Linked DNA regions of Homo sapiens: region 1 is linked to region 2. Evidence: promoter capture Hi-C in human tissues and cell types (Jung and others, 2019). All regions are on one chromosome and are shown on one strand. The core of a region is centred on a gene start or on the middle of the fragment in contact, and the rest is flanking DNA. Distances in the headings are between cores, read along the strand shown. Region 1 overlaps NUMB (NUMB endocytic adaptor protein). Region 2 holds the start of HEATR4 (HEAT repeat containing 4).

Evidence for each region. Contacts are between HindIII fragments. The study calls those that stand out against the background at their distance.
Region 1: a contact is called between a fragment that was not itself captured here and the fragment with the promoter of HEATR4 in region 2, in 1 of the 25 tissues and cell types used here (mesenchymal stem cells).

The regions. Positions count from the first base shown.
Region 1 is chr14:73,292,164-73,296,615 of GRCh38, forward strand. It overlaps NUMB (NUMB endocytic adaptor protein), which reads right to left. Exons shown (of 13, transcript NM_001005743.2): 8 at 571-711. Among named protein-coding and RNA genes, the nearest start is that of PAPLN-AS1, 48 kb to the left of the region's middle. The HindIII fragment of the contact is 3,425 bases long and covers 1,091-4,452 here.
Region 2 is chr14:73,556,289-73,560,785 of GRCh38, forward strand. HEATR4 (HEAT repeat containing 4) reads right to left here and starts at 2,659. Exons shown (of 18, transcript NM_001220484.1): 1 at 2,463-2,659. RefSeq lists an enhancer at 3,491-3,660. The HindIII fragment of the contact is 20,630 bases long and covers 1-4,497 here.

The sequences.
Region 1 (4,452 bases), core at 1,553-4,052, 260 kb before region 2:
GCATGTAGAATGTAGCTAGGACTACATGCATGTGCCACCATGCCTGGCTAATTTTTTCTTTAACTTTGTAAAGATGAGGTCTTGCCATGTAACCCAGGTTAGTTTCCAACTTGTGGTCTCAAGTGATCTTCCTGCCCTGGCCAAAGTGCTGGGATTATAGGGGTGAGCCATCAGGCCCAGCCAACTTCTTTCATTTGTAGTAGTCTCTATGCAAATACATTTTTAATACCATACTCATATATGTTAGCCAACAAATACATTTAAGAACCCTGAAAATACTTCCAATAATTAAAAGTTTCAAATAAAGTTTAGCAACCACTATCACCAGACCATTTTTACCTTCCTTTAATGATCTTTGGTTTCAGCCAATCATTTTGTTCAGTGAGTTGCAACTCCTGGGGTTACATCAAGAGTGTGAACTATTTGAATAAAAGGAGCTGAAAGTAGGCTAGTTTAGGCACTTCCAAGTACTTGTTAAAAATGTAGTAGAAACCGCTTGGCTGAGCAAACCCAGAAAGAGCCCAGCTAACTGAGAATACTCATCATGAAATACATATTTGCTGGACTCACTGTGTCCTTGACAGCCATGAAGCAGTGACAGATCCAGCGACGAGTGGTGCCATCACGGCATATGTAAGAAAAGGCTCTATCAAAGTTCCTGTCTGGGGCACAGAAAGAAACTTTCTCTATCGTCTGGTCAACTATGAGGTCCTAGAAAATACGACACACAAAGAAAGAGAAGACTTATGAGGTTATCTGAGCTTCTCAGAACACAGGATGTTCATTTCATGATGCACAATCCATACATCTGATACAACTAGGCTATGGAATACCTAGATCTGTGTCCAGCAGTTTAAATACTGAGAATTGGACTCAGCAGACATCCCAAGAGGCACTTTGCCCAGATACCTCTCTCAACTACATGTTCTAAAGCATATGCTTGTTGATTCTAGTTTTACATCTCTTTCATGGTAGATTCCACATTCAACAATATATGTAAATCAGTATCTTTAATCCTTTGGATAAAAAAAAAATCCTTTGGGTTTATTCCCAAATATAAGCAAATACATATAATAGTCATGTTTATGCTAACTTCGTTACACAATGAACACTACACACACATACACACAGTTCTGCACCTTGCTTTTTTACATTATATATACCCGATCCAGTGAAGTTACTTCAGATACTGTATTTTTCAGGTGTGGAATTTCCACTCGTTTCTTTTTCTTTTTTTTTTTTTTTTTTTGGACAGTCTCACTCTGTCACCCAGGCTGGAGTGCAGTGGCGCGATCTTGGCTCACTGCAACCTCTGCCTCCCGGGTTCAAGCAATTCTCCTGCCTCAGCCTCCCAAGCAGCTGGGACTACAGGCGTGTGCCACCACGCCCGGCTAATTTTTTTGTATTTTTAGTAGAGACAGGTTTCACTGTGTTAGCCAGGACGGTCTCAATCTCCTGACCTCATGATCCACCTGCCTTGGCCTCCCAAAGTGCTGGGATTACAGGCACGAGCCACCGTGCCCAGCCATTTGTTTCTTTTTCATAGTTTCTATTCTCTGCCAAGATTTCTATCTCTTCATTCAACATGAACATATTTCCTTTCTGTCACTGAGTATAGTTATAATGCCTTCTATACACTGTTTTCATTTCTGTTAAGGTAGCAGTCTACTTCAGTGTACCATTTTCTGTACTAGTTGTGGTGATGCTATAAACACAAAACAATACAATGACTCAAATACAAGAGACATTTATTTCTTGGTCAAATAGTGAAGGCGGGCATTTAAAATCTGTCTGCTAATTCCAACATCTGAGTCATCTTGAAGTTAGGTCTTTATTGATTGTTATTTTGATGAGAATAAGTCAGACTTGTCTGTTTTGTTGTATGCTGAGTAACTGCATTGTAGTCATTGTGAATGTTGTATGTGGAAAGAATGGATTCCGTTACATTCCTTGGAAGTGTCATATTTTTGGTTTTATCAGGTAGCTAATTTGATTATACTCAAATGGAAAACTCTTATCTTTTGAACAGCACCTCAGACATCAGGGCGTTTTTGTTCTTTTTTTGAGACTGTCTTGCTCCGTCATCCAGGCTGGAGTGCAGTGGCGCAATCACTGCTCACTGTAACCTCAACTCCAGGGCTCAAGCATCCTCCCGCCTCAGCCTCCCGAGGAGCTAGGACTACAGGTGCATGTCACCATACGTAGGTAATCAAATATCAGTTTTTATATCCTTAGTTGGGCTATTTGGAGTCTGCCTTGAATCTACATGGCTAAAAGGGTCAGAGATTTGGGCAGAATTTATGAACAGAATTTGGGACTACTCCTTTTTGGCTTACTCATTTCCAGGATTCTCTTTTTACTTTCTTTTTTTGAGATAGTCTTGCTCTGTCGCCCAGGCTGCTGGAGTGCAATGATGCAATCTCAGCTTACTGCAACCTCTGCCTCCTAGGTTCAAGTGACTCTCATGCCTCAGCCTCCCAAGTAGCTGGAACCATAGGCACGCACCACCATGCCCAGCGAATTTTTTGTATTTTTAGGAGAGACAGGGTTTCAGCATGTTGGCCAGGATGGTCTCAAACTACTGGACTCAAGTGATCCACCCGCCTTGGCCTCCCAAAGTGCTGGGATTACAGGTGTGAGCCACCACGCCCAGCCTCTCTTTTTACCTTCTAGTGGCTACTGTTGCCTCAAATTCTGTCTTCTGCACTTTGGGACGCCGAGGTGGAAGGACTGCTTGAGCCCAGGGGTTCGAAACCAGCTTGGGCAACATAGTGAGAACCCATCTCTAAAAAAAAAAAAAAAAAAAAAATTATCTCAGCCTAGGAGGCTGAGGCTGCAGTGAACTATGTCTGTGCCACTGTACTCCAGCCTGGGTGACAGTATAAGGCACTGTCTCAAAAAAAAAAAAAAAAAAAAAAAGGTAGGAACACTATCAGAATCAAGATAGACATGAGTTGAGAGGTGGGATAGCAAGGCAATCTGACAGAGCTTCTTGCTCAAAGGTTAAGGGCTTCAGATTTCAGCTTCTGTTTCATAAAAATTTGTGCAGATCATGGCATGGTGTTATCACCAATACTGATCCCAACATGGTATTAGTTCCCGCTTATAGTGAAATACAAGGTGGGAAGATGGTCCCAATGGTGACAAGCCACCAATGACTACTAATTACTACTATTCAGTGTGGAAAAAACTAAACTAATGAATGCCAGTGGTGTAAGTAGCCACAAGGGGGCAATATCACTTTCCAACTATTGTATAAAACAATTAAATACATAGCTTTCAAGTATAACAAATTTCATCCAAACACTAATGAAAACTACACAAGTTCCAAAAAATAATTAAAATGATCACTGTTTCCAACAGTAATGTACTAAAAGTGAAGACTATTGCTTCTCTTGAACTTAAAAAAAAGTATGCAATGTAATAAGGTCAAATAACTAAAATGCAGCTATATTAAACCACTTGAAATTTACCAGGCAAGTTGCCTATCAAAACTGCTTTTTACCTGCCAGACTTTCTCCCCTTTCAGTGGCATTTGAATTTTTTTTTTTTAATTATCTTCTTGTTAAATTTCTTCCTGACTTTAGGTATTCTAGGAAATTTTAATTAACAATTAAATGTACTTATATAACACCCTATGCTTTCTAGGGGTAGAGCTGTGTGTCTATTCTTATTTAGGCATTTAGGATCACTGTCTCTCAAATGCAAAATGGTACCTATGATTTGAGATATTATTTGGATTCTAAGTAAATGTTAACCAAAGAGCCATTCACTAGTCCTTAAGATGTCACTTAAATTGAGTTTTGAGTCAAAAGCCAGGTTAATTAGTTCAAATATCATTTTCTTAAAATAGTGTTTTCTTCAGAGCAAGAAGAAATTTCAGATGTGGAGTCCATCTTTTTTTAATTTTAAAACATGGTAAAAGGATAGTCTATCATCTATTGTATCAAATTTGTGAGAGTGGAAACTTATTAAAAAATATATAAGAACAAAAATAGGCCACGAGCGGTGGCTCATGCCTGTAATCCCAGCACTTTGGGAGGCCAAGGCGGGTGGATCACTTGAGGTCGGAAGTTCAAGACCAGCCTGACCAACATGGTGAAACCTCATCTGTACCAAAAATACAAAAATTAGCGGGGCATGGTGGTCTGTGTTTGTAATCAGCTACTTGGGAGGTTAAGGCAGGAGAATCGTTTGAACCCAGGAGGTGGAGGTTGCAGTGAGCTGGGATCGTGCCACTGCACTCCAGCCTGGGCAACAAGAGTGAAACTCCATCTCAAAAAAAAAAAAAAAAGAACTCAGATCTTAACACTAAATGCTAATGCTTAGTACCTTAGACATGCTATGTCATGTAGAACAATATGTTGAGAGAATACTATTTCTCATAAAGTAAATGAGTAACTAAAGTGGTTTCCTGAACGTTAAATAGTCTCTCAGGAGATTGTACTTTGG
Region 2 (4,497 bases), core at 1,409-3,908:
GTGGCAGGCACCCGTAATCCCAGCTACTCAGGAGGCTGAGGCAGGAGAATCGCTTGAACCCAGGAGGCGGAGGTTGCAGTGAGCCAAGATCACACCAGTGCACTCCAGGCTGGGTGACAAGAGTGAAACTTCTTCTCAAAAAAAAAAAACAAAAAAAACTTAAGGAATAGTTATTATCATCCGATATGATGGCTTATTAAGAAGGAAGGGAACACATGATAGGTCTGTTTTGAAAAGGAATGGGGACAGAACAAAATGTTACACAAGGTCTGATCAAAAGAGGCTTGTTCTGGCTTGTCTTTGTCTGTCTTGGAGTCACGGGACAGGTGTAAGGCCAAATTGTGCACTTCCCAGTCATGTTACCTTGGGCAAATAATTTGAAATCTGTAGTTTCCCAATCTGAAAATTGAGTCTGATACCTGTTCTAATTTAGTGTTGATTGATATGAACCTCAAAATTAGAAACGTATGAAAGTTCTTTGCAAACTAAAATATATGTGTGAGGAATTGTTATTATTAGTTTAGAGGATGGACTGTTGTCCTTAGAAGGCAAGTCTCTGGGTCCTACAGTTAGATGCACTGGGCGCTTCGGGAAGAATTTAGGGCTATGGGGTACTCAGCAATTAAAAGAGAGGGTGCTTAGAGAAGAAAGAAAGGACTTATTAATGGAGTTTGGAGGCTCCTTATTATCGAAACTTACACATTACGTGACCAGCATTATGAGGCAGCACCCCACTCCCAACAAATAGCCCTCTAGAACCAAAAGCAGAGTGGCAGGTCCGGGGTCCTTTTGTACATAGACAGCATAAAAAATTGACTAAGTCAATCCTGGCATAACTGCAGACCAGGCCCTGGAATGAGCAACCCACCAGCATTATCTGCATTTCTAGGAACTTGGGCTAGAAGGGGAGGAATGGGGTTGGAAGGGTTAGGCCACATGCCTCTAGTTAAAACCTGATGAACTTCCTAGATCCCCAGCTGGAAAACGTAGGAGTTGGACTAAATTCCTCTCCTGCCTCTAATATTTTATGAATACAGAACTCAACTCAAACTGGGTAGTATCTCAGAGATTCCAAATTTAGTTCCACTTTTCTGTTTGCTTATCAGTCGCTTACCCTCACCCTCTGGTCTGATACCTTTATCCTGTACAAGTGGTCAAAGTAGGTTGAGTAACATGTGCTAAAAGGAGTAATATCTTGCATTCTCCCTTGTTATTAAAATAGAGGAAACTGCCTTGAAAGAAAAGACTAAAAAGCAATAAGCCTTAGTATCAGTATCTTCTGAAAGCTTTAAAAAAATAATACTCTCATCTCTACCAACAGATTTGGATTCTGAAGTTCTGAGGTGGAGTCCAAGAGTGTGCAGTCAGCTTCTGGGGTGGTGTTTGTTAGATACAGTTTTTTGTTTATTTATTTATGTTTGAGACAGGGCCTCACTCTGTCACCCAAGCTGGAGTGCGGTGGCACAGTCATGGCTCACTGCAGCCTTGCCTCCCAGGCTCAAGCAATCCTCCTGCCTCAGCGTCCCCAGTAGCTGGGACCACAGGTGTGCACCACCATGCCTGGCTAATGTTTTAAAACTTTTTTTTGTAGAGACAGGGTCTTACTATGTTGTCCAGGCTGGTTTCAAACTCCTGGAATCAAGTGATCTTCCTGCCTTGGCCTCCAGAAATGCTGGGACTATGCCTGGAATAGATATGGGTAAAGAACCTTTTACATCAGACTCTTGTGTCCTACTCCCAGAATGCTGATTCAGTAGCCTGCAAGTGAGGCCTAGAAATCTGCATTTTCACAAGCTCTCAGGTTTAATACACAATACATTTAAAGAAAGCACAGCCCAAAGGGTGTCAGTGGGGTGTATGAAGGAAGCCTGGTTAGTGGGGAGAGTGGGATTAGGGAACAGCTGCTTAACCTGGCTTGTTTCAAGTCCCCCTTTCTCCCTTTTTGCCCTCAAAAAGTTCCCCTCATTTTTTCCCCTCTACTTTCTAATTTTTTACCATGCACTCACACAGCTATACAGCTATCTCCAGAGATTACTCTGGAAACTCTGCTATAAAGATGACCTGGTCTAATGCCTTGATTTGTTTTTTTTTTTTTGAGACAGGGTCTCACTCTCCTGGAGTACAGTGGCGTGATCATGACTCACTGCAGCCTTGACCTCCTGGGCTCAAGCAATCCTCCCACATAGCTGGGAGCATAGGCACATAGCACACCACTCTCGGTTAAATTTTTTTTTTTTTTTTTTTTTTTGTAGAGATAGAGTCTCACTATGTTGCTCAGGCTGGTCTTGAACTCCTGGACTCAAACAGTCCTCCCACCTTGGCCTCCCAAAATGCTGGGAATACAGGCATGAGCCACTGCACCAGGCCTAATGTCCTGATTTTATAAATCCCAAAACTGGGGCCCAGAGAGAAGAGAAATCATTAAGATCACCATACTGCTTGGTATCTAAAGTAGTACTGACCCTTTTGACACCTAATCCAAAGTTTTTTCAGCTACCTCAGGTTGCCCCTCATCTTCCAGCTGACACCATCCAGCACCTTTCAGATACTGGCAAAGGAGCAGTGTTTCAAAATTACTTTCCAAATGGCCTCCTAAAAGGCAGTCCTCAGAGAGAAGCAAGGTTCTGCATCTTAAGCCTTCCTTGGTTTCTTAGGTTCCAAAGCTGTTTCTATCAGTCTCCAAGCAACCAACTCTTTAGAATTCCATGAGTCTACTCAGAGAACTTGTGGGTTCAGTCGGGGGTATATCTTCAACCATTTATTAAATTTCCTTCTTTGTAAACTGAGCTTTGAGAAATTGCATCTTATTTATTGATTATTTATTGAATGGTAGTTTCATGGAGTTTTTGGTCTTTTTTCTTTTTTGAGACAGTCTCACTCAGTTGCCTAGGCTGGAGTGCAGTGGTGCGATCTCGGCTCACTGCAACCTGTGCCTCCCAGGTTCAAGCAATTCTCCTGTCTCAGCCTCCCATTACAGGCCACACCACCATGCCCCACTAATTGTACTTTTAGTAGAGATGGGGTTTCACCATGTTGGACAGGCTGTTCTCAAACTCCTGACCTCAAGTGATGTGTCCGCCTTGGCCTCCCAAAGTGCTGGGATTTGCAACTGTGAGCCACCACACCTAGCCTCTTGGTCATTCTTTGAAAAATAAACCTCAGCCAGGCGCGATGGCTCACGCCTGCAATTTCAGCGCTTTGGGAGGCTGAGGTGGCGGATCACCTGAGGTCAGGAGTTAGAGACCAGCCTGACCAACATGGTGAAACCCCATCTCTACTAAAAATAGAAAATTTAAAAAGAAAATCACCTGGGCCTGGTGGCGCATGCCTGTAATCCCAGCTACTCGGGAGGCTGAGGCAGGAGAATCGCTTGGACCCAGGAAGCAGAGGTTGCAGTGAGCCAAGATCAGGCCATTGCACTCCAGCCTGGGCAGCAAGAGTGAAGTGCAGTCTCAAAAGATAAAAATAAAAAAACCCTCTAGATATATGCAGCTCCATATTCTCCCACCACAAGGGTTTATAAATCCTGAGAAAGAGGCAAAGCAGGGAACACATGACCACATAGTTCTGGCAGGCGTCAGATTACCAGGCTGATAAAACAGATGGTAAAGTAGAAGCTGTCCGTCGACTTTTCCATTCCCCTTTCAGCTCCTCCACTGCTACTTAATCTCCTTTGCCCACACAGTTCAATCCCATTTTCCCTGATCTCTAAATCCTGGCTAGATTATTAGCCATTAACACTAGCTTTTACAAGGAGACTCTTCAATCTTGTATTTCTAATAGTATAATTTCACACGTACAGAAATTCTTTAAGTCATAGAAGTCTTACAGATACAGAAATTCTGATCTTCAAGAGTCCCTTTGTGAAACAAACTAATTTATCCTGACAGCAGGAAAGATTTCTGGGCCTAAGGCTCTGTCTCGTTGACCCAGGTCATGCTATTCAGGTGGTCCATCTCTTGGTTCCAAGCAAGACTGCTGCTGCTGACCAACCTGAATATGGACTTTAGCACTTGAGCTCAAGCTGCACTCAGATGGTTAGACCCCCATAAAAAGCAGAGGGTACGTTTTCTGTTATGAAAAGTAAAGACTGAGCCAGGCGCTGTGGCTCACGCCCATAATCCCAGCACTTTGGGAGGCAAGTTGGGCGGATCACGAGGTCAGGAGATTTAAACCATCCTGGGTAACACGGTGAAACCCCATCTCTACTAAAAATACAAAAAAATTAGCCAGGCGTGGTGGCAGGCGCCTGTAGTCCCAGCTACTTGGAGGCTGAGGCAGGAGAATGGCATGAACCCGGGAGGCGGAGCTTGCAGTGAGCCGAGATTGGGCCACTGCACTCCAGCCTGGGCGACAGAGCAAGACTCCATCTCAAAAAAAAAAAAAAAGAAAATTAAATACTAAAAAAATTAAACATTATAACCCTGCTAAGGCAGGAGGATCATTTGAGCCCAGGAGTTTGAGGCTGCAGTGAGCTATGATGGCACTACTGCACCC